7 separate regions of the Homo sapiens genome follow, and all the other regions are linked to region 1. The links are contacts of gene promoters, found by promoter capture Hi-C in blood cells and fetal thymus (Javierre and others, 2016). All regions are on one chromosome and are shown on one strand. The core of a region is centred on a gene start or on the middle of the fragment in contact, and the rest is flanking DNA. Distances in the headings are between cores, read along the strand shown.

The links. Contacts are between HindIII fragments. The CHiCAGO score rates a contact against its expected background, and 5 or more counts as called.
Region 2: a fragment that was not itself captured here is called in contact with the fragment with the promoter of CHD1 in region 1 in 4 of 17 cell types (total CD4 T cells, naive CD4 T cells, monocytes and 1 more); the score reaches 9.0 in total CD4 T cells.
Region 3: a fragment that was not itself captured here is called in contact with the fragment with the promoter of CHD1 in region 1 in 1 of 17 cell types (neutrophils); the score reaches 12.1 in neutrophils.
Region 4: a fragment that was not itself captured here is called in contact with the fragment with the promoter of CHD1 in region 1 in 8 of 17 cell types (neutrophils, activated CD4 T cells, non-activated CD4 T cells and 5 more); the score reaches 18.0 in neutrophils.
Region 5: a fragment that was not itself captured here is called in contact with the fragment with the promoter of CHD1 in region 1 in 1 of 17 cell types (neutrophils); the score reaches 8.1 in neutrophils.
Region 6: a contact is called between a fragment that was not itself captured here and the fragment with the promoter of CHD1 in region 1, in 4 of 17 cell types (non-activated CD4 T cells, activated CD4 T cells, fetal thymus and 1 more). The highest score is 9.6, in non-activated CD4 T cells.
Region 7: a fragment that was not itself captured here is called in contact with the fragment with the promoter of CHD1 in region 1 in 8 of 17 cell types (M0 macrophages, neutrophils, monocytes and 5 more); the score reaches 10.9 in M0 macrophages.

What each region holds. Positions count from the first base shown.
Region 1 is chr5:98,926,759-98,930,755 of GRCh38, forward strand. CHD1 (chromodomain helicase DNA binding protein 1) reads right to left here and starts at 2,249. Exons shown (of 36, transcript NM_001270.4): 1 at 1,781-2,249. It overlaps CHD1-DT (CHD1 divergent transcript), which reads left to right and starts at 1,804. Exons shown (of 4, transcript NR_151718.1): 1 at 1,804-1,884. LOC100289230 (a long non-coding RNA gene) reads left to right here and starts at 2,376. Exons shown (of 1, transcript NR_036530.1): 1 at 2,376-3,997. RefSeq lists silencers at 1,393-2,022, 2,283-2,492 and enhancers at 2,266-3,164, 2,653-2,982. The HindIII fragment of the contact is 7,543 bases long and covers 1-3,923 here.
Region 2 is chr5:94,111,843-94,115,839 of GRCh38, forward strand. LOC105379087 (a long non-coding RNA gene) reads left to right here. Exons shown (of 7, transcript XR_001742441.2): 2 at 483-562; 3 at 1,713-1,823; 4 at 2,905-2,959. Among named protein-coding and RNA genes, the nearest start is that of ARB2A, 2.2 kb to the left of the region's middle. The HindIII fragment of the contact is 1,727 bases long and covers 980-2,706 here.
Region 3 is chr5:103,278,310-103,282,306 of GRCh38, forward strand. MACIR (macrophage immunometabolism regulator) reads left to right here. Exons shown (of 3, transcript NM_033211.4): 3 at 1-351. Among named protein-coding and RNA genes, the nearest start is that of MACIR, 22 kb to the left of the region's middle. The HindIII fragment of the contact is 1,780 bases long and covers 1,193-2,972 here.
Region 4 is chr5:103,260,922-103,264,918 of GRCh38, forward strand. The region is part of intron 1 of MACIR (macrophage immunometabolism regulator); the gene reads left to right. Among named protein-coding and RNA genes, the nearest start is that of MACIR, 4.2 kb to the left of the region's middle. The HindIII fragment of the contact is 1,592 bases long and covers 1,087-2,678 here.
Region 5 is chr5:103,241,745-103,245,741 of GRCh38, forward strand. No RefSeq gene overlaps it. Among named protein-coding and RNA genes, the nearest start is that of MACIR, 15 kb to the right of the region's middle. The HindIII fragment of the contact is 2,352 bases long and covers 1,175-3,526 here.
Region 6 is chr5:94,613,971-94,617,967 of GRCh38, forward strand. The region is part of intron 1 of KIAA0825; the gene reads right to left. Among named protein-coding and RNA genes, the nearest start is that of KIAA0825, 2.6 kb to the right of the region's middle. RefSeq lists an enhancer at 3,648-3,997. The HindIII fragment of the contact is 2,445 bases long and covers 1,526-3,970 here.
Region 7 is chr5:103,177,065-103,181,061 of GRCh38, forward strand. PPIP5K2 (diphosphoinositol pentakisphosphate kinase 2) reads left to right here. Exons shown (of 31, transcript NM_001276277.3): 22 at 603-710; 23 at 800-916; 24 at 2,957-3,124. Among named protein-coding and RNA genes, the nearest start is that of PPIP5K2, 59 kb to the left of the region's middle. The HindIII fragment of the contact is 3,635 bases long and covers 423-3,997 here.

The DNA.
Region 1 (3,997 bases), core at 999-3,498:
AAATTAAAATATTTGTGGAGTGAAAGGATTTTTAGAGACTAACTGCAACTAACAATGTTTTTATAGACTCCTAAAGCAAGGTGATACGATGTAACATATGCATACATCCCAAGAGTAGATAACGGAGTCTTATTAGATAACTTGGTCGAATAAATGAAGTGGGGGGGGGGGTGGGAGGAGGTTACCTTTAATCAAGCCCTCACTCCTATCACCAAGAACTTCATACACTTGAGTGAGAAAGTTCTGAAAACGCTCCCATGGGAGGAACAGGCAAATAAAAGATACCATATACTCTCAACAAAAATGCATAGCTCAAAATAAATGTGTTATTTAACAGGTAAACGGATAGTGGGATGATAACATTTAAATAATACTTAACCAGTTTGCACTTGGTTTTTATTTTGTGAAAAAAATTGAAAAGGTAATAGAATATACACTATATCTGATTTTTTACGTAAAAAATTTGGGGCAAGAATAATGAACCAAGACACACCATTTCCACCTTTAAAGATTTCAGTACAACACTGAAGAATCACCTACAAGCCATCCACGAATAAACAAAGGAGATCTCTGGCAGGGGAGGGAGAGGAAGAAGCGGGGGAAGGAGACGTCAGATCCTTCCCCAGCCAGAAAGTACCGAGACAGCCAACTGAGAGCAGAGCTGTCCTCCGACCTCAGCAAAGAGAATTCACTCCTACGATTATTTCCATTCCACAAGAGAGGGAGGGAAACAGATTGTTACCAACTCAATGATAGCAAAGTCTGCATCTGGATCAGGATGTTAATTCTCTAGACTACTGTCCAGTAGACTCTGCAAGAACAGGTTATCTAAAAAGTAACCGTTCTACTCAACATTTATTCCTAATGTTAAATATTAATCTCAACCCTAGTCAAAGTGCCTTACTGAACAATTAAGTCTTAAAAAATCTAAGTATGTTAACAAACTGCCTTTCCCGTTTCTTCCTTTAAAAAGTTCACTCCCCTTTTCGTTCTTTCCTTTTCACCTTCCTTTCGTCCCTCAAAATGGCTTTCTCTGTACATTTTAACTTCCTTTCCCCTCCATCTCCCTTATCCGAATAAGTCCTCTGAGACCCTTTTCACAACCCTGAGTTCTGAAGCTCCAAGCGCACACAGCGCTGTGTCCTCTCAAGCGTCTCCACAATGACTACCCTAAGTTATTAAACCTCTTCAATCCTCTGTCTTTTAGCAGTTGCTTTGCTCCTGCTAAGTTTTTAAAGCGGCACTCGAAAGAGGTTTGGAAACCATCCTCACTCATCCATCCAGCGCGCTCCAATCAGCCTCCCTCGCGGACCTGCCCCCCTCTCCCAGGGCCTCCATCCCGGTCCAGGAGTCCCTCTTCCCGCCTCAAACTTCCCGCAGACCCGCCCCGCGCCCTCCCAGGCTCGCCCGAGCCGCCGCCCCCTCCCCCTCCCGCCGCTCCCCACGTGCTGGGAGCCCGGGTCGCGGCAGGACCCACGCACCGGCTAAGTGCTAGCCATTCGCGGGTCTCCTCTCGCGGCCCGGTCGGCACCAAGCCGAAGAGGCCGGGGCAGGGCCGCCGGGCCGGCGCAAGGATGCGTTCTGCGGCCCCGGCCTGTACTCGCCGCTCACACGCCCCCTGCGCGCCAGGCCCGTACACCGCCACCGGCACTCACAGAGCCACCCGGCCTTCACCCGGCCGCTGGGCCGCCGCCTGGGCACCGCGCCGCGCCCGCCCTCCGCCCGGCCGGTTCCTGTCCTCTCCGCCACATCCTGACCCGCCCGCCGCCCCCTTTCTTACCGGCGGGCTTGGCGGGGCGGAGGGAGCCGACTCGGGTGGACGGCCTCCCCCGCGCCCAGGCCCGGGATCTCCGCCGCCCAGTCCTAGGGCTCCGGCGTCTCGGGGTAAGCAAGAGTCCGTGCGGGGGAGGGGGAAGGGGACAGACGCGGAGGGGAAGGGGAAGCCCCGGTCCGCAGCACCAACGCGCGATCCCCTGCGGAGTGGAGCTAACAATTCATTATTGAAGCACCAAGGGCGAGGGCAGCAAGAGCTATAAGTAACCAGTCGTCGCCGCCGCCGCCGCCGCCGTCGCGCGCGCGCTCCCGCTCCCTCCGCTTATCTGCCCCCGGCAGCCGCCATGACGCCGAGAAAGCAAGCGAGCGCAACCGTCTCCGTCGTAGCCGCCGCCGCCACCGAGGTCGCCGTCGCCTCCGCCTCCCGCGCGACGTAAGCGCCTCTGCTCACTCCCCTTCCCGACAGAGCGCGAGGCGGGCGGGCGCGCGCACGCCGAAGCCTTTCTGCTCGCGCGCGGGAGGCGGGAGGGACTACGTTGAAGGGTCGTGGGCGTAGGAAAAAAGCGATTGGTGCTGGGGCGGGGCGGGGGGGGCGAGTGCGCGCACGCGCACGAATGGGAGTGCGCACGGCGGATGCGCAGAGGCTGTCGGACTCTGACTGCGCGGAGACCGCTGGACTCTGGTCGCGGCCTTAGTCCGCTGATCCTCGCTTGGGTGCCCGCCCTTAGCGGCCCGGCGTTGAATTCCGGGAAGTGGGAGCTTCAGGCTCGCTCCGTGCGGGTATGGGCGCTAATGTCACTTGGGATGGTTGCGCAAGGACATCGCGGCGGACACTGACAAGGAACCGGGGAGGAACGGGGGTGGGGAGAGACTGCGATGGGACTCGGGAAGCCGGGAAGGGCCGCGCTGAATAAGCCTAAGGGGCCGGGTCGCAAGGAGTGTCGGGTAGCACAGGCCTCGGCTCAGTCGGAGCGCCAGGCCTCAGGGTCCGGGCGGGGGCTGCTGCGTCACACCAGGCAGCCTGGGAACGCAACTGTTGGGCAACCGTGGTGGCCTCTCGCCACCTCTTACGCTTGGGCGATCTGCGATTGACGCATCCTGGGAGCTGATGTCCCGCACGGGCGGGGCGCCGGAGGAGGAGAGAAAATAGAGACCCGGTTGTTGACAGCCTGTGATGCCGCTTGATTCATGTGTGGGTGGCCTGGTTTAGAAATGTACCACCCTTCCTTTCTAGGTTCCTCCCCGGAGGGCGGGGTGACGGGTGCGGCGCCGAATCGCAACAAAAAACGCTGCTCGAGGGATGTTAGTAACTGTCTCAGCTTAAGTTGCTGCCTTTTAGCTTACAGTTTGTATCGTAACTGTAATTGTGGATCTTAGTTAAATCCCTTCAGTGTGTTGGAAACATATTTTTAAGTGTATTTTTGAAACATACTTAGAGCATTTTGAAATGCTTTTTTGAAAGCGTTTTTTAAATCAAAATTCTGTTACACTTTATTTTTTTCAGTCTGCAGATGAACTTGACTCACTCAAGGTTAATGATTTTTGTTTTTTATTTATGTTTGTAGAGGCGGGGTTTTGTCATGTTGCTAGGTTGGTGTTGAACTCCTGAGCTCGAGCGATCCACCTGCCACTGCCTTCCAAAGTGCTGGAATTACAGGCGTGAGCCACGGCGCCCGGTGGCCGAGGTTAATAATAATTAAAAGTTTCTAATCCCATTGTTCAGTTATTTGATTTGGTGTAAAGGCGCACTTTCCAAGTCAGATGAGTTTGTGGTAACATACATTCCCCAAATAATTATTTTTCCCTTGTGGGAAATATTCCAGTTTTAGGCTACCAGCTGTTTAAACAGTTTGGTTCAAATCCTTCAAAAAAATCTCAAAACATAACTCCACATATGTATTTACTACATATTGAAGGGTGTATTCACTTGGAGAAGTAGGAGAAAGCAAACAGATGCCAATGGCCTTTTTGAAAACATGTATCTATCAGCAATAATTGAATAGCAAAACGAAGTGGAACACTACCATCCTTTGCAATATTAGATAGTTTTAATACTGGGTTGTGAGGAATGAAAAGATCATACAAATCGTCATTTCTGAAGTCATTTCTGAAGTCGTCATTTCTGAACTGAGTGCTAATTTTTCATATTAAGCTTTATGTTAATATCCTTAATGAGAGGAACTTCCTGTGCCCGTAATTTCTCCAGAGAAACTATTAACATACA
Region 2 (3,997 bases), core at 593-3,092, 4.8 Mb before region 1:
CTGCCTGGGTAGCCGTAGAGGACGAGGCCACTCTAAAGCCTCGTTTTCCCAGCGGAATTTTAACTATTCTAAGGATGTCCTTACAGCCAGTTCCCCACTCCGCTACTCAGAGTGTGTCAGACTTTACCCTGTCCATTCAACTCCAGAAAAACCGGGAGGTCTAGATTCGGAAGATTAAATTTACCTTTGAATTAGGACATGTAAAATAGGAAGTTAATATTAGCATCCTAATGACAAAAGTTTTCTCGTTATCATACTTGACTCAAATGGGAATCTTACGGATATTAATGTTTTTTCCAGAAACAGGTTTGAAAGGTATTTCAAGGATAAATCTGGGGAAAGGGATGGAAGCAACTGATTTTTAATTTTTAGATAGTACTCTCAGAGCATTTATTTAGTCCAAAACTGTTAATTTAATGAATTAGGCTAAACTAGACGCTGGGGTAACAAAGCTGAGTTAGATACCCTCTCCTCTGAGGCAGCTAAAGAGAAGGAAAGTCTGGTGGCTGACAAGTAAACCAACAGTTATGTTCTTCAGAGAGGAGATCTCAGACTCTCTAAGGTATACTTCACTTCCACACTGTTTGTACTTTGCAAATGTACCCTGCCCCCTAAAATGTAAACTCACTGATGGTAGTGACATAATCTTGTCTTTTTAATGTATCCTCAACCATACAACAGTGCCTGTCCACAAAGTAGACAATAAATACTTATTGAATGACTGAATGATCACAGTGGTAAATAATAGATTGGGGAAATCTAGAAAAGTGTATAGGACAAGAAGAAAGTGGTGTAAGTAAGTGGCGGGAGATAAGGAGCAGTAAAAGGTGAGAGAATCCACTGGAGTTAGCCAGAACTGAGTACCTGAATGAATCTCGGGCATTGCAAGACTGTTAGGGCTTCATTTCCGGAAAGAACTCAAATGGTTTGTAGAGTGACACTTTATACTGAAGAGGAAGGCAACAGCCAGATTCTGAAAAGCTTTCTATGTCATGCTGAGTAATTTGATTTTCTGCTGCAGACAATTGGGGAAGCTGAAGGATTGTTGAACAGAGGAGGGAAACATTTTTATTTTGGTGGACTTTTGCAACAGTGACAGATTATATTAAAAAGATAAGGCTCCCAAAAATGTATAATCCCAGTTTAACCATGAGAAAAACATCAGACAAAATACCTGACCAGTACTACTCCAAACAGTTAAAGTCATGAAAAACAAGGAAAGTCTGAGAAACTGTCTGAGCCAAGAGGAGCCTAAAGAGACCAACTTTAATGTTGGATCCTGAAATAGAAATAGAACGTAAGTGAGAAAACTAGTGAAAATTGAATAAAAAAGTAACATTCCATTAAGAGAATATACCAATGTTTACATAAAATATGGAGATTGGTCAAAAGATGAGTGACATGACCTTTCAATATTTCCAGGATAGAGGCCCACTCAAGGGTTAGGGGAATGTACTTTGTTCAGTAGTAAACTATTGAACAAACATATGGGTGCTTCAGCCTGCAATTCCAGCTGGACTTACATGGGAATGAATGAGCCTTCAGATTGTTCCTGTCATTGAGTCAGCTGGGGTCCAAAATTTCATAAAGCAGAGACGAGCCATCCCCACTGTGCCCAGTTCTGAATTCCTGACCCACAGAAACAATTAGAGATAATGAAAATGATTCTTGTTACTTTAAGCCAGTAAATTTTGGAGTGATTTGTTTTTCAGCAAAAGAAACTAATAGCTGTATGACAACAGCCAAAGAGTAAATATCCTTTCAAGTCCAATCCTGCCTAAGATGTCAAAATCAAGAATGAAGAGGTTATGTGCTGAAACAGAGTGAGTCCTTTTCTCTCCTTACTCTACCCTAAATGGTAAACTCCTGCCTCAGCTGACCACAAAAATATCTTCTGCAAATCTGTGAGGAGAAAGGAGGGAAAGCAACAAAAATTGTATGTGGGCTTAGATGTTTTGTTAGAATTACAACAGCCCATGTGTAGCTTAGCAGAAACCATTACAATGATGACTACACAATATAGTACAAAAATGTCCCCTCATTTTAACCATAGTCATCTAAACTGTACAAGTTAGTTTATAATTTTAATTTATACATCTCTAGGGAAGCCAGAAACTTCAGTTTCTCTCCCCACCTCTCTTCTCTTGCACTTCAAAATCCTACTAAGATAAGGAAAAAGGAAAGGAGATTTGTTCCCTCCTGGCTAACAGCTGGTCCATCTTTGATCACTAGGATGATCAAAGAAATGTCCCTATACCATATTTTGCGTATCCTCCTCCTATTCCAGACCACTTCCTTGGGCATCTATCTTTTTATCAATCTACTCCCACCCTTCACATTAAATGATTTCAGTGACATACAGCAGACAGACACCTCCAAAAATACTAACAAGGCTACATGTTGTTCATTTAAGTTAAAAATAAAATTTAAACCTACTTATCATGACTAGGACTCAGTGCCAACATTTTGGCAGCTCAAGAAAATCCATTAAGGAAAATATTCTTAATTAGATGCTAAGGGCAAAGCTCTGTCCAAACTAACCAACTGTATTAGAATGAGGTCTGGATTCTGACTTAAATTTGGAGAATCAAGTAACATTCCTGCCCTTGCTCAAGCCCAAGCAGGAATGTGCTGTGGTTTGAATGTGTTCTCTAAAAATTCATGCATTGGAAACATAATTGCCATTGTAATAATATTAAGAAGTGAAGCTTTAAAGAGGTGATTTAGGTGATAGGGACTGTGCCCTCATAAAAGGATGAATGCCATTATTGTGGGAGTGGGTTAGTTATCATGGGAGTGAGCTCCTGATAAAAGGATAAATTTGGTCCCCATTTTCTCTCTGTCTTGTGCACTCTCACTACTCTGTCTCACCCTCTCTCCCCCTGTGATGCTTTCTGCCACAAGATGACCTTCACAAGATGCAGCCTCTGGATCTTGGACTTCCCCAGCCTCCAGAACTGTAAGCCAAATGAATCTCTTTGTTTATAAATTACCCAGTGTGTGGTATTCTTACAGCAGCAGAAAATGGACTAAGACAGTATGTGTGAAGTGTGGATAGTAATTACAACAAGTTCTGCCTTCTAGATTCAGTTTATATTTAAAGCCCAAAAAGTAGGATCATATAACCAAATAATTTCTAATGACCCCTCCAACAAAATGATTATTACTTGAAATCAACCCCCTATCACTTGTACTTTCCATCTAGATGCTGGGGACACAAAACTGAGTTAGACCCAAGAACACCCTTTTCATTATGCCTGGAATTTTTTTAAAATGAGAAAAGATAACATATCAGTGTTCAAAACATACTTTAAGAGAATTTCGAACAAAAAAACATAAAATAGCCTCTAGTTTGTGATGGAGACAATTTGTAGGTTGATATATTTACCTAGAGTTAGACAACCTGTGAGGTTTGAGGGCACAGTCTCTAAGGTGTCCCTGATTTCTGACACCAACTGCAAGTTTGGAGGGTTCCCAGAAACACCCTCAGGTTTGAAATTTTGCTAGAAGGTCTCACAGAACTCACTGAAAGCTGTTATCTTTACAGTTACCATTTATTACAAGGAAAGAATACAGACTAACATCAGCCAAGGGAAGAAACACGTAAGGCAGAGTCCAAAAGGGTACCAAACACAGCGCTTTTGCTATACTCTTCCATTATTTGCTGTACTTTCCCAGTGGAGTCAAGACATGTTACCCTCCCAAAATCCATCCATGACAATATGCAATATAGAATTGCCAGTAACCCTTTTCCTGTTTGCCCTAAGAATACTCACGAGTGGCACTTGCAGCTGCAGCATTTACCTTGAGATTACTTTGCTGATATTGTTTGATGTGTCCCCCCCCCAAATCTCATGTTGAATTCCCATGTGTTGTGGGAAGGACCCATGGGAGGTAATTGAATCATGGGGGCAGGTCTTTCCCTGCTGTTCTTGTAATAGTGAATAAGTCTCACAAGATCAGATAGTTTTAAAATGGAAGTTTCCCTGCACAAGTT
Region 3 (3,997 bases), core at 833-3,332, 4.4 Mb after region 1:
GACAATTTACCCTGTGGAACTGTATTATTTCTAACTATGAAATAAAGGGGTGATGTAAACACACATTGTTGTGTGGTGCTTTAAACTAGGTCCACTATCAACAGGCTACTTACTGTTCAAGAATTCCACTGAAGCACTTATTTTAAGGCCCTATTTTTCTTAAACAAAACAGTGACAACAACAATCAAACCATTTACTTTTGATGCTCATTGGCATTTTATGATAAAAGATGTATTCATGGCAATGATATGTATTCACCCTATTAGGAAACACAACTGGTTACCTATGAGACCTGTTCTGTCCGTGTGCCTACGTTCCTTAATAATAGCTAAATAAAAATTTGTAGCTTTTTTTGTTTTGTTTTGTTTTTTCCTGAAAGACAGGTGAAACTCTGTGGCAAAAATAGGGGGGTTAATAGTATAAGATATGGCATACTTACTCTTTTTTGATTAGTAAAGATATATAATTTTAAATTTGGTTTTCTAGAAAGAAAGTTTCAAAACTCTAGGCCAGTAATTTTCACAATGTGTTTGCAGAACCCCTTTATTAGTTCAGTCTTACTTTCTCTGCACCCCATGGAATTGTAGCCTATGGTAGGTAAGAACCAATTTTTTTAAAAAAAGGGTAGGCTGGATCTCTTTTAGTTGAAAAACAATCCCTTTTGACATGGTTTCTATTTTTTAACTTTTTCATTTTTTATTCAATTTAATATTCCACACTAAATGGGGCACACTTGGCCAGAATATACCTGATGATATTATCTTACTGTTCTTGCCCTTAAACATTGCAGCACTATATAACTTTAATTTTTTTCTTCTTTTGCAAAAGTACCGTTTGTTTGAAGCTCAGATGATGCATAAAGTTGCAGTAAAATTTCATTCCTTGCCTCAATCTGAGGTGAGCTTCTTTTGCTCTTCTGACTTCCATTTGGTTGCATTTTACACCTCTGGGTGCAGGGCTCCCATAGTCAGTAGTCATGGAAGAAGAGGCTCTATGGGGATGGATTTAACATGTAAAAACCAGTTCAGAACCCCCAGATCTTCTGGACTCCAGCCCAGCTGGGCTATTGTTCCAGAGCCATCATGTCCTGTCCATTGCTTCTTATGCCCTATAATGCCCATCTGTGATCACTGTGTCTTTTTCCTTCCCTGGGATACTTTATTTAGGTGATTTCAATATTTGAGGTTTGAGAAGCTTTTTGAGGATTCTGAGTTAAGTTTTAGAGGCAAATAAGTCTTCCACTAAAGAAAATATTTCTTCAAATCTTAAGCAACCTATTTTTTTATTAGTTTTTTATTCTAGCATATATTTGTCTCAGAAAGGCTTTTATTCTATTATAATCATTGAACTTTTTTAAAGGAACTTTTAAGTGACCCTGGTCTAAGTGGTTCTCATTCAGTGAACAGAGGAGGGGAGACTGTCACAGTTTATAAATGGCATAAATGCTCTAGAAGAGTTGGGGTTGAAAGAGAGCAAGCATGTACATTACTGTAATGCAGAGAGGACAGCAAGTATTAAGTAAAATTGCCTTTTTAAACAATGTAATTTGATTAGAGAAATGGAAATTGATGAGGAAGATTGCCTTGGAAATATAATAAGTGTGATTATGAAGCTGGAAGTGGAGGCTGTCAGCACTTAATGATGCACTTCACTTTGTAATATACGTCTTTAGATAAGAATTATGAAATGGACTTCTGTGATATTTTACATTGGAAAAAAGTTAAGGATTTTTCTGGCTGAGAAGACTGGAAACAGAAGAAAAGAAGAATGAGCTTGATTTGTTATTTTGAGTTTGCTGAGCCCCCAAGGACACTTCTTTCTTTAGCCTGGAGAGATGTTGAATTTGTATTCTTGCCATTGTGAAATGACTTTGTGCAAGATTTTTTTTTTCTTCTTCTTCTTCCTTTTTTTTTTTTTTTTTTTTTGAAACAGAGTTTTGCTCTGTCGCCCAGGCTGGAGTGCAGTGGTATGATCTTGGCTCACTGCAGCCTTCACCTCCTGGGTTCAAGTGATTCTCCTCCCTCAGCCTCCCAAGTAGCTGGGATTACAGGCACCCGCTACCAAACCTGGCTAGTTTTTGTATTTTTAGTAAAGATGGGGTTTTGCCATGTTGGCCAGGCTGGTCTGAAACTCCTTACCTCAGGTGATCCTCCTGCCTCAGCCTCCTAAAGTGCTGGGATTACAGGCTTGAGCCACCGTGCCCGGCTGTGCAACGTTTTATTAAATGGTTTCAGAGAGAAAGTCTGAAACCAAGTCTGAATGTTGTCACCCCTGACCGTGGGGTTGTGCTTGATGTATAGATGTATGGGAAAGCACAGAAGGAGAAAAGGGAACTCAGCATCTATTAGATTGGAAGAGAGTAGCTGCAGTTGGTGGAATCCTTAAGTGATCCTGGCTGGAGTCGCTTCTGGAGAGAAGAGCTTTGATGCTTTTGCTTTTGTGAAAAAGCCACCTGCACTTTGAAAGTTCCTTCTGAATGTTCTCAAGAGAGGATTCTTATGGTGATCCGGTGGAAAGAGGAGGGAACGCTGGGTTCATGATAGTGACCTTTAGCCTGATTGGCCAGGAAAACTATTCTTCACCAAACTTTCATGTAAAAGGATTACGCATTAAATATATATTTGGAAGACTTTGAATCATCTTTTGTCCCTGGCCTAATGCCTCAGTTAGGGAAAGGAACTTACACAGTAAGAAGTTTTTGAACTTAAAGAAGTTCAGGTTTTGGCTAAGGGGTTGGAGCTGGGATGGCAAATACTGAGCATGCCGACCACCGTGCTCCTCGCTTATGCATGTGGCAGACATCACTAATCTATCAGAGCACAGTCCCCCTAGAGTCCAGATGTGGATGCATTATCTTTCTTAGCACTTTAGGCAGCTGCTACTGAACTGATCAGCATTACATAAGAGTTTTGCCTATCACATCTCCACACCCCTTGCAGTGGGTTACAAGGTAAATTTAAAAAATAGTCTGAAGCTTTTGGAGTAGACCAATCTGTAGACCATTCTGGATCCTGTCCTCTAACCAGAGAACAGATGAGAATGGTCCCACACTGTGACCCATAAGGCATCTACTGAGCACATGCCAGTACTTTGGGAAGAGAAGGGCTTAAGACAGTTTTTACCTTCAAGAACGTGCTTATTATTGGGAAAGCGGAAAGATAGCATAAGAGGCACCCCAAGCACATATTTTGTAGACTAACAATTTAAGAGAGGGGAGCTTAAATCCCATGGAGCTGAAGTCTTAAGAAAGAACAATCTTGTTTATTTTTCTCTCTGCCTGGCTGGCTGATTGGATGTGTTAACTTACATTGCTGATCTGTATAAAAGTTGACATGTAAAGATATATTTCTTGAAAGTACCTTCATTGGAAAGCCTGGGGAGATGACAAATACGGGAAAATCAGCATCTTAACAAAATAATTGAATCTGAGGAGCACCAGGGAATGCTAGTGATGTTCAGGTGTTAACTCCCCGTCTCCTCAGTAGGCTGCGGAGATGAACTGAAGAGAACTAGAAGAGAAGAGTTAAGGTGGAGAGGTAGTGTTAAAGAACTGAAGCCTTGGAGCTAGCAGGCAGGGAAGGCAAGAGCTGTGAGAGAATGAATAAATAAATGGATACTTAAGTGATATTTTTTCCCTTTGCATTACCCTTCCCTTTTTTTCTGGGGCAAGGTGGGGTGAGAGTGACAGAGAGAGGTTTATTTAATTAATTAGTGTCAGAAGCACATTTAAAAATGTATATTTTTGATATAATTTGTATAAGAAAATTATATGGAAAGTATTTTGCTCAAAAAGTTTCCTAATGTAGATTATCTTTTGAAATGATCAAATAGAACCCTGAATTAGTTGGTGGATTTATGTATTTTATTTTCAATTGGGCATTTTTAAAAACACAATTTGGGCTTTTTTTCTTTTCTTAGTTTTTGCATATATTTTCAGTGTCATGCTGATCTAAGATTTTAATGCATTTACGTGGAAACATTTTTAAGGGATCAGGAT
Region 4 (3,997 bases), core at 633-3,132, 4.3 Mb after region 1:
GTTCCATTTTGATGATACTTCCTAAGAGACAAATTTCTTGTAAAGGCTGCATGTTGACCTTTAGTTCCACTTACTGTCGGTCATATTTGCAGTGAAACTGAGTATTTTTCTAAAAGTAGAAGGATGACACCACGTGATAAGAAGATATTAGTAACCTAGGTTTAATTTTTACTAGCAGAAATGGAAAGATAATGAGTGCTGCACTTTAAGGGGGTGGATTGCTATTAAAAGAACTGATACTAGAAAGAGAAACACATTTTTGTCTTACTGAACGAATTATGGGTTATCTTACAAAGTTGGCAAGGTTAATGGTTTGTTTGTAAGGTCAAGGATGGTTTCAGAAAAGTCACACCCTAGTTAACTCTTCTTAAAGAGTATTGATGACTTACTTTTTGCAAGTTGCAAATGGTAAAGTAAGAATATTTGAAAGAAGCCTCTAAGATGAGCATCTAGGTGCAGCTAAACATTTTGTTTTCATTGTTGTGTTGTACTTTGACAGTTAAGCCATTTTATTTCTGCTTAGTGTTCAGTTAGTATTCCTCCAGAGATGTTTTGGTTCATCTTTTACTTGTTTTTAGTGGTCTTTGAGATTAGTGGTTACAAAATATTTTCACTATTTTGAAAGAATTTTTAAAAATTGATGTTTTTTTTCCAAGTGCTTTTCCATTAGTGGTCTCTTCTTAAATAGCCACTCTGAAAATACTACCTGTTTTTCTTTTTCTTTCTTTCTTTCTTTCTTTCTTTCTTTCTTTCTTTCTTTCTTTCTTTCTTTCTTTCTTTCTTCCTTTCTTTCTTTCTTTCTTTCTTTTCTTTCTTGAAAATGTTTTGGTGGGCTTCAGGTTAGGGCCATGAAAAAAATGAAAATAAATGTTTTGATAGCTAGAATTAGAACTCACAGCTTCTACTGTACCAATTTCTCTGCCTAAAATTTGTCCTTTCATAATATAAACTTTAATGATGAATGTGATTTTTATTTACCAATATTTGAAAGGGCTATGTGCTGGTCCTCATATTTATAGTCTTATGATTTGTGATCAATGTTGTTAAATTTTTTCTTACTGCTGTTTTGTTAGTGATCTGTGCTGAAGCTTGAGATTCACGACTTTTTTGTGTGTTTACGAATTTTGTATGGACATAAACATTTCCAAATGGAGCTTTGTATATTTTTGGGAAAGGCACTCCCTTTTTTGGGTTCCTAGTGCCATTCAGGTTTACTGTTATTAGAAGGATTTATTTCCATGTCTGCCCTCCCCTCTGACCCAGTCTCAGGCCATCTCTTTATATGTGCACCAGTGCCTGCATAGTGTGGGGATATATAATAAGACTTAAGAAACATTGTTGAATGACTGAATAAGTGAATATCTAAGTGGGTACACCCGAAGAAAGAACTCAGACCTGTATGGGAATTCACCGTTCAAGCAGAAGGGTGTTTCCCTTTTTAAAAAAGTCATTGCCTTTCCATGTTGCTTTTGAGTAGGATAACAAATGAAACAGCCAAACTGAGACACTTTTGAGAGTTAAAGGGGGTTGCTTTCAATAATTATGCCAGGGTATTGACTATGAATTGAGATATATAGTCACTCTTCTTTTGAAAGGCATTCTTATTTACCTGTGATAATAACTATCACCTGAGAAATTCGATACATTTGGTAGTTAATGTTTGCAAACTTTTCTATTTGTAGAAGCTCCACTTGCAGTGAAATGTTGGGTGTCTTTTGCTTAGTCACCCATGACTTTCTTATCCAGAAGTCTGTGGGCAGCTCTTGGCCACTGCTTGGTTTTTTCCTATTTTTATTGCTTATGGGATAATGTCCCACTGCATTCTGTTTCAGCTTCTTATAACTGGAAGCATTTATTATATCTTGTAGCCTTTGCTCTATTTACTTCAGTCTTTGTTTTTATGCAGCATTTAGTCTATCTTCTAAGAATTTCACATGGATTCCTTTTCCTCTTGCTGACTGTTTTGGAGAGGAAATCTGTTGATATCTTTCCAAGCCTTCAGTGTTTAGAACATTGGCCAAAATCAGTTGCAAGCGTTAGAGAATTATAGATTTTTAAAGTATTCTAAAAATGTGTGTTATTTGAAAGGTACATGTTTTGGGAATTTTTATATTACAATCTTTTAATTGTTATAAGTGGGAGATGGGGGTAGAACCCTTACTGTAATTTTGTAGTAGATTTCTTTATGGGTTATGTCTTAAAGAAAACGTATAATCTTATACTAGTTAGTTTCTGGTCTTGTTCTTTTTATTTATTTTTCCCTCTTTTTCACCATATACCTCCTCCTCCTCCTCCTCCTCCTCCTGCTCTTCCTCCTCCTCCTCCTGCTCTTCCTCCTCCTCCCACAAAGCAGGAAGCAGAGTCAAAATTAGAAAAAGTGAGAATGTAATGGAGCTTCTGCACCTTGGTTTTCTTGTGTTGCTCCCTTGGACATTGTGTTTATATTCTATTTTTGGCTTGGCACTGGCATAATAGGAATAATCAGTTACTACTCTTTGTTTACTATGAAATTACCGATCATTTCCTAGATTTACACATCAGCTCCAGTGCAAGAGTTGGGTAATGTCTTCAAGGCTCCTCTGCTTTCAAATCCAGACTAAAGTTTTAGTTGATTTCTTTCTTTTGATGTTGAAAAAGAAACTCTTTGAAAGTGTAAATATTTTTCTAATGCATTTAAAAGCTTAAAAAGAAGAATATGTCACCAAATACATGAGGCAAATTATATGAAAGTTTGAATGAGATTTAAGACTGTCAAAACTATTCTTTAGGATTAAGACATTCAGATATTTCTAATGTTCCTCCTGCTTGTTTTAAATTGACATTTATAAAAGTATAAATGAAATCTATCCCACTTTGTGATAGATGTAGTCTTGAGAAATAAAGCGGAAATATATAACTGTATTTGATATCCAACCATATAACCAGACGGTATTGGTTGATACCTTTTTTTCTGTCGCATAATTTATGATTTTAGAAAATAGAAGCTCATAGGAGAAAGAGTCCATGATTCAGAAGGATTTTGTATAAGACTTTCCACGATGTGCCACCAAATCTTAATATTTTTCAAGTTGGAAATAACCATGCAGCTAAGTAGTTCCCCCAACCATTTCACAAATGAGGCAATAAAGCTTTTAGATAAAGTGCCTACCCATACACTTAAAATAGATTTTCACTTATAGAAATTACTTGATATACATTTTGCGGGATCATGATTATTGTGTAAAAGGCTATACATGTTGTCTTATCATTGAACAGAGGCCAGAGTGTAAAGTAAATGATCTTTGGAGTCAGACCAATTGGGGTTCCAATTCCTGCTGTGACTCTCATGTAGTATCACTTAAAAGAGTACTTTAAAATAGGGCTACTACTAAAGAGTACTTTAAAAATGGGATAATAATATTTTCTTCATGGAGTAGTTAAGATTAAATGATATAAATTGTATATCACTTTTGACATAAGGAAGATGCTAAAGAAATGTTCGTTTTTAGAACTCCTCTTTCCCATTAAAAATCCATTAAATAAGAAATGCAGATGAATGTTATTAGTATTGGGGAAATTCTTTGGGATAATTATATTAAATAAACATTTTGTCTGTAGGTAACAATTTTTGTTACAATTTACTGTGTGTTAAAACCAGAGGCTTCATTGGTGGGGTAGAATCAAGGCTTACTTTTCAAGATTTTTTGGTTCCCCAATTTGAGAATAGTTGGTGGCAAAATACATGAAAGGGAGTGTTTCTGTTATCTACATCTGAAGAAGTTGCAAAGGCTGATAAACATGCTAGTTTCTTGGAGTGACAGTTCTTGGTGCATTGGCTCCTTCCAGTTTCTCAAGCTAAAGAAGCACATATTAAACTCAGTAATTATCTATTTCCTTTGGATAAAACTCTCCTGTACTGGTAGGGAAAGTAATAAAGTTACAAACTCCTTGCCTTTTTTCTTGCAGTTTGTCTTTTGTTTGATAAGGTATTGTACTGTTGACACTTCTTGGGCTCTGT
Region 5 (3,997 bases), core at 1,101-3,600, 4.3 Mb after region 1:
AGTTATTGTTCAAGGAATATTTTTAAAAGATGAATCCATGCACAATCTTGTTTCTCAAATTATTTATATATTCATGTAAAAGCCTTTTAATGAAAATAACTTCCAATATTTAAAAAAGTTGGTTTTGATCCCATAGCCAGAAAGTTGCTGCTATTTATGAAAATCACCACTCTTTGTATAGTCTCTAGTTGAAAATGCTAAATAAAATAAATTCTATTTCCAAAATTATCTTGTCATTGAAGTTAGCATTATTTGTGTAACACTAATTAGAGACAACTAAAAATAAAGTTAGTCACTGATACAGTTTGGATATGGGTTGTTTGTCCCCACCAAAACTAATGTTGAAATTTGATTCCCAATATGGTGGTGCTGGGAGATGGAGCCTAATGGAAGGTGTTTGGGTCATGGAGGCAGATCCCCCATGAATGGCTTGGTGTCTATTTTCCTGGTAGTGAGTGAGTTCTCCATCTGACAAGACTGATTAGTTCTCACAGAAATGTTCCTGAGAGAGTGGTTTGTTATAAGCCAGGGCATCCCTCAAGTATTCTCTCTTTCTACATATTTGCTTCCTCTCCATCATGTTATGAGGCAGCACAAAAGTCCTCACCAGAAACCACAGCCATGTTCTTGAACTTCCCAGCCTACAGAACCATGAGCTAACTAAAATTATTTTCTTATAAACTATCAAGTCTCAGGCATTCTGTTACAGCAACATAAAATGGACTAAGACAAGTTTAATGATTTAATATCAGGAAATAAAAAATAATCCTATCTCTTATCTACTTTTTCATAATTTAAATATCATGCTGTTATTACTCACAAACTCTGGTTTATCAGAGGACTGAGCTCACTGCAGAGTTTATTTTTATTTTTATTTTTTTGGAGACGGAGTTTCACTCTCGTTGCCCAGGCTGGAGTGCAATGGTGAGACCTCGGCTCACTGCAACTCCGCCTCCAGTGTTCAAGCGATTCTCCTGCCTCAGCCTTCTGAGTAGCTGAGATTACAGGCATGCCCCACCATGCCTAGCTAATTTTTTGTATTTTTAGTAGAGATGGGATTTTACCATGTCACCCAGCCTGGTCTCGAACTCCTGACTTCAAGTGATCCACCCGCCTCAGCCTCCCAAAGTGCTGGGATTACAGTTAATTTTTTTAATAGTAAAGTTAAGATGTAAGCTTTAAAAAATGGAGAGGAAAGAAGTATGAAAAAGAGGAGGTAGAATAATGAAGGTTTCTACTATTTAAGTTTGAAAGATTACACTAAATATGCATACTAAATATGTAATTTCCAAAATCACCATTTAGCCTTGAGCTTATATTTAATTAGTTCATCAAACATTCAATATTTACTAAACTTGTATACTTAAGGAACTTTGAGAGGCACTATCATGGTTGATTCTTAAATCTCCAAGAAAAACAATATATGTTTTAAAAACAGCATAAGACTGGAAATTGAACCTTGTGAAACACATTTAGGAGGGATATGGAAGATGTAAGTGTGTTTATCATGATAATTATATTGCAAAGTAACCTGGCTCAGACAGCAAGCAGTTCATGTAGATGATGGTAAGTAGTATATTACAGCCAGCCACAATTTTTGTTCTCTTCTCATTTTTTGGTACTCCTATTAAAATTCAGTTAAGAAAGAATTATCATTTTCATCATCATCATCATCATCATCACCACCACCCCGGAACTGGTGTTAGTATTTCCCTCTGTCTCTCACACACCGCACACACACACACACACACACACACAAATACACAAAACAGCAAAGTTTTGGATCGGATTGCCTAAGTATCAGAATTTTCTTTCTATCAACTTTCTTATACCATGTCTTAAAATGTAAGTACCCAGATTTTTGGTTTTTGTCAAATCACTTGCCAAATGTGCTCGCTTTCCTTCTTTCCCTCCTCCTTTCCTTCTCTCAACAGTTATTGAGCACTTTACTATGTACTAGCACAGAATAATATTGTGGATGAAAGAAAGGAAAAAAAAGCTATGGTCCCAGACCTATGCTTTTCACAAGACCTGGAGGATTGCTGAGCAGTGATTCAATGCTTATCAGGCCTGTGCTGAATATCTTGAGGGTTAGGAGATTTCAGGGAGCAAAGAATCTGACCACAAAGCTATTGGCTGTATCTGACCAGGTTGTGGGAAGAAAGAAAATTGCCAGTCCAGGATTTGCAGCAACGGAAAGGCAAGAACAAAAACTGTGACTAAAGAGATATGATAAAGCTACGCTAGGTTAAAGGAAGAAAAGATGTTTACACTCCAGGAATGTAGCACTATCTCTTGTCTCTTTGTCTCTCTGCCTGTTTCTCTATGTCTGTCTTTCTGTTTTGTTCTGTCTCTCTCTGTCTCTGTCTCTCTCTCTCTCTCTCGCCCAGCCCCCCCAACACACACACACACACACACACACACACACACACACACACATGCGCAAATACACACCAGGTTTGAGTTAAGGACCAACCTAAAGCACACACAGTGTGATTTCAAGAACCAACTCTTTCTGTCTATGATGATTTACCACTGAGAAACAAAGGTTTTCATTTTGCAAAGGTTTTCCTGGTGATGACAAAAGGGTTGAAAAATATGTAGAGTGTCTCTAAAGACAGTTTTTTACTTACTGTTACTGAAGAACACATGAACCAAAAAGCAGTTTTATAACTTGTGGATGTTGTGGATGTTAAGTATTAAAGATGGGCTTACATTTCAAGAGTAATCAGTAAGGTGATAGTACAAAAATCACAATGCCTTGTAAGGAAGTCACAGTTGTCCTACTGTTTGCTAATGGTAGTTAACATGATAACTTGTATAATAGATTAAACTTGCTAAATTGTGATAGGTGGAGGTATCACTTCCTTAAAAGGCTAGAAGCTGTCAGATGTTAAAAGAGGTTAATACAGAGTCTCTCTCTGTAAGACAGTAAGGAGTCTTTTTTGAGTAAATATTTAGATGTTCAAAGAACAGAAAGGGTAACTTGGAGGAGAGAAAACCTGGGCTTGGGAACAGTTTAGGACTCTTGTCTTCAGCATTTCCCAGGAAAAAGGACTCCAGTGGGCCAACAAAGAGACCCTGATAATTTGCTCAAACCCAACGTGGTATGTGTAGTTCTTACACAAATTCCGAATAAGCAGCCTTCTAATATCACATTAGTTTCTCTGCCAGAAGCGATATTTCCCAAGAGAAGTAATTAAATGGATTTTCTACTCCAAATTTGTCCTGTGTGAACTTGGGTAGTAAATTTTTCCAGGGAATGCGTGGATGAATCCTTTTATTTAGACAATCACAAACAGTAGCCTAGGATGAGAGAGAAAAGAAACTGCAAGGTGATTTTGAACACTAGTTCATCTTTCCTAATTGCATACCTCTTAACACTTCCAAGCCTTTGTCTCGTGTAACAGAAGAAGGTAATACGACTATCTTATTCATAAATAACTGTAGCGAGATTGAGATTAGTGAACATCAGGATCCGTACCATTATGTCCCTGTGAGTCTTCTAGTCATGAATTCTGTTGAAAGCTTAGGTAGGATGATCGCTTAAATATAAAAGTCTCTCAGAACTGGAAGAAGTCTGAGATATGATAATCACCTTGTAGCGTACATTATGTGTACTGTTATTAAATGTGTATGTGAAAGTTCTGGGTTTGTCCTTTCAACTAAATTATAGTTTGAACTTTAGTGCATGTAAATTATGCATTGACAAAGGCAGAATACTTTGAGACGTGAATGTTCAAGTTATTATATGTTATTGTGGGGAGTTTTAAATAGCAACTGGAAACTTATGGTAAAATATTTATTTTGAATAATTCTTCTTTACCAACATTATTTCAGAAACACATCTAACATGTGGCTGTTGAAGCAATATGGAAATATGAAATATTAAGGAAATGTCACTTATATGTTCATAAGTTTGGTTTTATGTACACTCACTTGATGTCTTGAGGAACTGGGGCTCTGTTGGTGCCATCCTCAATTAAAGTGGGAGCAC
Region 6 (3,997 bases), core at 1,498-3,997, 4.3 Mb before region 1:
CTCCTTCTACAAATTGTAATAAGAAAATAGATACGAATATGTCTAAATATTTTACTATAAAAACCTTTATTGTACTATTACTTAACAGAAAGAAGTCAGTTTAAAAGTTATAACATATTCATAAAATTGAATAGCATACAGGCCCTAAGTATTATTTTATAGAAGCAAATTTATTGACATGGAAAAATTCATGGTATAGCACATTGAAAAAAGCAGGTCACAAGACAATATAGACAGTATTATTTCATTTTTATTTTAAAAGCACATATATGCAAATCTGTAATACAGAGAAAAATCATAAGTTATTTCTGAGTGGTGGGGTCATGGGCCACTCTTCCTTTCTCTTTCCTTTTTGGCATATTTGTACACTCTAATGTTTCTGTAACAAATGGGCGTTTTTCCATAACAAAGAAAACAAATGCCAACTCCATCCTCCACCCCATCCTAGTTATACACACAGATTATTGCTTATCGTTAAAAGCCTAACATCTCTAACTTGCCCACAGTTATCTACAGCTTGTCCTAAACTCAGCTTTTTACCTCAGCTTTATTACCAGCCTTCATCCATCTTACATAGCCAAAGTGACCTAGGTACTATTTCTGTTTTCTGACACCTTTGCATCTTCCAGTAGAACACTTGTCCCTCTTGTTCCCCTGCCAAAATCCTTTCCATCCTATATGGCACAAACTCAATATTACCTTTTTTATGAGGTCTTTCCTCATCTGCCCTCCTGGAAAAAAAAAAATCTCTTTTCTTTGCATTCCCATGTTTTGTGTTCAATGATGTATGTAAATTGCCCTACATATAATTATTTGTTTATATAACTTTCTCTCTCCTAGTAGACTGTAAGTGAAAATATTCTTCACCTTTGTCTAATTTATAAAGCATTTTTCATATCCACTAATCTTTTATCCTTGCAAGACTGAGCAAGAAAAAGAATCAATATTTATTTATCAGCAATTGTGTATCAGACAACACGTTTGAGGCTTTATAAGTCAACCCACTTAACGCTCACAGCAATCCTATGGATCCATTTTACATATGAAAACATAAGCTCACAAAGGTTCAGTGACTTATTAGTGTCATAGCTGGTAAAAAAAAAAAAAAAAGCATGGCTGTGATTTTTTTAACTCTATTCTTCCTATTGCAAAAACATGATTGTGTGTCCACCAATGTGGAAGACGTGAACACATATAAAAGCTTACATAAAACACATCAAAATTGATGAGGGTTTTCTGGCACTCCAGAACTGCTATATTCAGATAATACTTAGGAGTCAACTAAAGTCAGAGGATTTTTGAGGTAGGAGGGACCTTACAGATAATATAATCCATCAAACTCCTATATGTTATAGATGAGAAACATGATACCCAGAGCTTTTGCACACATTTAGCAGCTGAACCAGGATTAAAAATTCAACTGGAGGCTAGCAAAGTGGTTAAGATTATCGCTTTTGGGATCAGAGCCCTTCATTCAAATCATAGCTGTGTTTAATGACTATGCGTAACCTACGACAATTTACAAAGCTTATCTTTGCCTCAGTTTTAGCATCTGTAAAAGGAGGATAATAATACTTACCCACTGTGCTGTAAGGAGTAATTTAACACTGAATAGCAGAGAATAAACACAGAAAAATATTAGATATTCTCTCATCTCCTGTCTCACAGTCCAGTCTTCTTTGCAGGACAGCACATTGCCTTTTATGAATGAGTGTGGAGTGGACACTGTATTTCAGGGGCAAGGTGAGTAAAAATAAATATTTATTTATGTGGTAAATCCTTTAAAAAATGTACAAATACTTCTCGGTGGATAAATAACATTTTAAAAAGGAATCATTCATTCAATAAATGCTTATTTTTTATTTTTTAGAGACAGGGTCTTACTCTGTTGTGCAGGCTAGAGTGCAGTAGTATGATCATAGTTCACTGTGACCTATGTTTATTTATTAAAGGAAGTATAGAACATAGTAAAAAGAGCCAAAATTTAGAGGATCTGGATTCAAATCCTCTTGCCTTAGCCTCCCAAAGTATTGGGGTTACAGTCATGAGTCATGGTTCCTGACTTATTTATTGAGCTTCTATTACACGCCAGGCACAGTGCTAGATGCTGGGTTTGAGATGACGAACAAAACAGACATAATCCCAAACTTCATAAGCACTGAAATTTGATAGCAAAATATCCCTGAGATCTGCCTACGGGATCTGCCTACAAGTCAATGCAATGTAATCAAATACACATTAGTATTTCAGGCTAGCTATACCTATACAGTTGTAAAACAGGATATTCTTTAGAATTAACTTCTATGTCATTTCTAGTATTGGTCATTTCAACTAAATTTTTGTAAATTCTCTGAAAATTAGGCTATTTCTGTTTCTCTATATAGAATTGGGTATTGGGATGGGCAGGTTTAATAAAGCATATTCCTGAAACTATGTGATAATCCCCATCTGTTTGAGGGTTACGTGAGTGGAACAGCACAGTTTTGCTAATAATTCCTTATAAATCATTACAAAGTTGAATTTTATGAATTTGTGCTCATTTACTCATTCTTTCTCCCTACACACACACACACACATGCACACACAAATATACATGTATACAAATGTGTGTGTGAAAAGCTGTCTAAAGAGATAGTTAGCTGATACTCTGGACTCAGTCACCAATATGCTTGCTGATGGTCTCCAGATCTTCTGCATTTGCCCCAAGTGTTATGCTAATGTACAGTATAGGCATTTGTTTGAATTAGGATAATAAAACTGGCCAAGGATAAAGGCACTAAAGAAACTGCATTATTTAGATGTCAAAATTACCTTATGGTGATGAACACATCCCTTAAGTCCCTTTTATCCTCAAGTTTTGCTATCCACTTGATTTCTAAATGTGACATACTATCTATCCATTTTTACCTGGAGTGAAAATAATGATACTGTTATGTTTACTTATAAAGGTATAGAGCACAGTAAAAAGAGCCAAAATTTAGAGTCAGGTAGACTGGATTCAAATTTTAATTGTGCCATTTAATTGTATAATTTATGGAAAATCACAACCTCTTTGGGTCTCAGTATAAAATGTTTTGCAAAATAGAAATAATACAATTTTTGTGATTTTCTTTTTTTATTAAACATTAAATAAAATAATAAATGTAAAGTGCCTGGCAGACAGTATCTACTTGGGGTAAGTATTAATGATTGGCTACATTCAAGAGCAATTCAAAGAGAGAAATCACTGCCTCTAAAAACTAGTTGCTGTACAGATATAATACATAATATCCCTGAAGTAATTTATAATACTTTCAACTGGAGAAATAAAGAAAAAATACAAGATTCAACAAAATGTCAAGATTGGGATTAATGGGGCGATTATAAGTTTGTTGAATTATTAACCAACAAGGCCAGAAAATCAATGTGCTGTCCTAAATATGGTTTGTTGCATTACTCTCAAAAGGTTAAGAAGACACTGGCCTGGTGTTAACAGGGGCCTTGAATTGAACATATTGCATTTTTCTTTATCGGTATGCTCCGATAAAGAAAATGTTTTTATGGGTATGAGGAGCATACCCATAAAAAAAATGCAATAGTACCTACAACTCTTTCGGGAACTGACTGTTTTGAAAAAATAACAGTCAGCTGCCTTTTACGGGGGTTGGTGGGGAGGTAATTATCTAAATATAAGGTGGCAAGTGAAAACTAGTTACCTAAGAAATTGCATTACTTAAGAGAAGTCGCCAAGGTTCACTACATCACATCTTTCAAATCTTAAATGAGCACCTTTCCTCACATTATCCCTTTGTCGGAAGCAATTTCTCTTTACAACTATTCTGGCTACCTCAGACCTCCATCCAAAATTCTCCTGAATCCTTCATTATCGACAAAGCCTGGAGCAGAACGCAAGCATTCCTTTCTGAAAGCACACATACTTACTGATCACTGCTTTCCAAAAATGCATCTAATGCCCAAGCATGAAATTACAAGCTTGTTCTCTTATGTCTCAGCCATG
Region 7 (3,997 bases), core at 990-3,489, 4.3 Mb after region 1:
GTTATGAAATATGATACTATACTAGGTACTTTGGAACCTGACAAAGTTAAAAACGGTCTCTTACCCTCAGAATTCATTAGTGTTTGTCATATTTCAAGAAATTATTTATTTTTCATTTTGTATAAGCAGTTAAAAAAGGTTACCACTAGAACTTCTAATATAGGTTGAATATCTCTTATCTGAAGTGCTTGAGACCAGAAGTTTTTTGGAATTTGGAATTGTTTTTGTATTTTGGAATACTTGCATTATACTTACTGGTTTAGCATCCCTAATCTGAAAACCCAAAATTCTCCAATGAGTATTTCCTTCGAGTGTCATGTTAGTGCTCAAAAAGTTTTGAATTTTGGAGGGTTTTGGATTTTGGATTTTCAAGTTAGGGATACTCAAACTTGTAGAGATTTTAAAAATATTTTATCAAAACAAGCTTAAATAACATACTAAGACTTTTAAATGTAGTGGAATTATTTTTTAAAATTTTGCATATGATAAGTATTCACTTTATGTGGTATCACTAGGATTAAACAAGCTACCATAGTGACAATAAAGTGACTTTCAAGTAACACAGTTTGAGAAAATGATTACCACATGTATCTTTTGTTCAGGAATCAAAGGATGAACAGTGGAAACGAGCTATGGATTATTTAAACGTTGTCAATGAGCTCAACTACATGACTCAGATTGTTATCATGCTTTATGAGGATCCTAATAAGGTAAACAGAGCTCTTGATTTGTGTTTTACCAGACATAAATAAAGAGCTTAAAGTTTCTCATTTTGAAAATGTTCTGTCATATTTCTTAGGATCTTTCCTCAGAAGAACGCTTTCATGTTGAATTACACTTTAGTCCGGGAGCCAAAGGTTGTGAAGAAGACAAAAATTTGCCATCTGGCTATGGATATAGACCAGCTTCCAGAGAGGTAATGAAGGTGGAACTCTCAGTGCTTAGTTACTACAGTTCTAGATTTTCATGAGGTTTCTATAAGAGATTTTTATAATGTACTATAAATAATTCTTATTTTAACTTCTAAGCAGGAAAATGGTTTAAATTTTTTAAAGTGTGATTTGTATAGACTGTACTTTTATGCATATTGCAATACCTAGGAATTTTATCTTTTGTTTAGATTGTTTGAATTTTAAGGCCGTGTTTAGAATGGATAACCTTAAACCTTTAATTCACCAAAATTGACTTTTTTGGATGTAGTACATGTGATGTGCAGTCCAGTTTTGTTGTCTTCGCTCTATGAATAACTAAACCCCAGTATCATAGATTCAAGAGTTCATACTTTTTCTGCCACCTATAGTACTACATCTGATACTGCAGACATATATTGTGTCTGTATTTTGATTGGTTGGTTTCTGAATTTTTAGTCTTACTTGATTGCTCTATTTGTCTCTCTCTCTACCAGTACCACAGTCTTAATTATTATAGCTTTATAATAAATATTGATATTGAGTATAGAACTCCTCCAGCTTTGTTGTTCTTAAAGATTATGTTAAATATTTCATGTTTCATGCATTTTCATATAAATTTTATAATCATTTTATAATATTCTAAAGACTCTTTGAGATTTTGATTGAGATTACCACTACTCTGCAGATCAATTTGGAGAAAAATGATACTTTTTCAGTATTGGGTCTTCTAGTCTAAGGACTTGGTATATTTCTGAGTTTATTTAACTATACTTTATATTTTTTGATAAAATCATTATTTTTTCATTAAAAATAATAGCAAAAACCACAATTACTTTTGCACCAAATAATTGTTTTACACCATCTTTGTCATATTAATTCCTAGTTCCTTTATAGTTTTTTATGCTGTCATAAATGATTTATTTATGATAAATTAAATTTCATTTATGATTTATTTAAATTTCATTTTTTGTTTTTGTCATATTAAATTTTAACTCAGTTTTGTATAAAAATTTTATAGCTAGCAAACTTATAACTTGATATATGCTGTTATTCATTCTAATAATTTACCCTTAGAGTCATCTGGATTTTTTATGTATATGATCATAACATCATCTATGAATGATGAATAGATTTAGTGATAGTGGACATTCTTATCTTTCAGTGTCTTATTATTAACTGTGATGAGCCCTTCAAGTTTTGGATATCCCTTATTTGATTAAAGAAGTACCTTTTTATTCTCTGTAACCCTTAATTTGATGAGGGTTTTTATGTACTCAGTTTATTTTCTTTTGGCCAATATTATGTTTATGAGGCTCATCAATGTAGTTGCATTTAGTTTTAGTTTGTGCGTTCTTATTGCTTTAAAATATGTGTTTTACTGTATTACTATGGTCCAACGTATGCATTATCTTATAGTTGGATATTTGATATAAAAATTTTTAGCTTGCCTGTCTCCCATACTGTGTTGGAGGATTCTTGCAATCTGGGACTGTGTCTTATTCATCTGTGTCCTAGAACAATTCATGGCACATGTTATACACTTAGTAAATGCTTAATGAGTCACTGAATGATTATTACTTTTAATGCAGTTATCACATTTATTAGAAATGTTTGGAATAGATTTAAATATTCTAAAATATATAAATACAAGTGCTGTTTAGTTCATGCTCAGGTTGATGAGACTCCTATATAACAAAGCTCATCTCTATTATTTCTTACTGTCATTTATTATTATTGTTTATTTATTCTTGCACTTGATGAAATGTAATTAAACGCTTTGTCTTATGTGGTTTTTTAATTGTCATTTTACTGTTTAATTTCTCCATAGAGTATATGTATTTTTGAACTCAGAGACTCTGCCTTTTCCCTCATAGTACACAGCATAATACTAAGCTGTTAGAAGAGTTCAATTAATGTTAATTCATCTGAGTAAACAAACTTGTATATGTATTTCAAGTACCTCTACCAGTGGTAGTTGAATCTGTTCATCAGAAGAGATTTCTTAAATCTGAATAGTAAAAGTGTTTTATATTCTTTGCTCACAGAATGAAGGCAGGAGACCTTTTAAAATTGATAATGATGATGAACCACATACTTCTAAAAGAGATGAAGTTGATCGAGCTGTGATATTGTTTAAACCAATGGTATCAGAGCCAATTCATATACACAGGAAGTCTCCACTTCCAAGATCTAGGAAGACGGCTACAAATGATGTAAGTATATGTATCAGAACACATTTTTCATACAGTAAACTAACTATATTTTAATAAAACAGAAAAGAAAATACAGCTTTAATTGTGGAGCTTGGGAAACCAACAAATTTTTAAATGTTATTTAATCTATTTTTAAATAAATTACAAAAAATATAGAGGCAGTTCAAAAATAGATTAGCTTTAGAATGTTGAGCTTTACATATAGTTTTCATAAAAAAAGGATGCAAATATAAAATAAGCTGTTTCTAGGAACTTGAAAAATGAATGCTTTTTTTTTGTCTTGTTACATTAGGAATATTTACATTAGGTTGATCTTCAATAATGAATTTTTTTTAAAAGCCTGATTTAATGGATCAAGAATAATTTTAGTTAGAGAGCAAGCCGGGCATGGTGGCTCATGCCTGTAATCCCAGCACTTTGGGAGGCCGAGGCGGGTGGATCATGAGGTCAGGAGATCGAGACCATCCTGGCTAACATAGTGAAACCCCCGTCTCTACTAAACATAAAAAAAATTAGCCAGGTATGGTGGCGGGCACCTGTAGTCCCAGCTACTCAGGAGGCTGAGGCAGGAGAATGACGTGAATCCAGGAGGCAGAGCTTGCAGTGAGCTAAGATCACGCCACTGCACTCCAGCCTGGGCAACAGAGCAAGACTCTCCCCAAAAAAAAAAAAAAAAAGTAGAGAACATTTGCTGGAGATGCTTTAGCAATAACTGATTCAAGTGATACTATAGGTAAAGAAATGAAATTCTAAATTGTTAGCCTAATTGCAAAGTCTATATAGGAATTTGAATGTTTGATAATATAATAAAAAATTTTACCTTTATATTAAGATCTATAAATAGGTTAGAATAATTCTTATGCTCTCTAATAG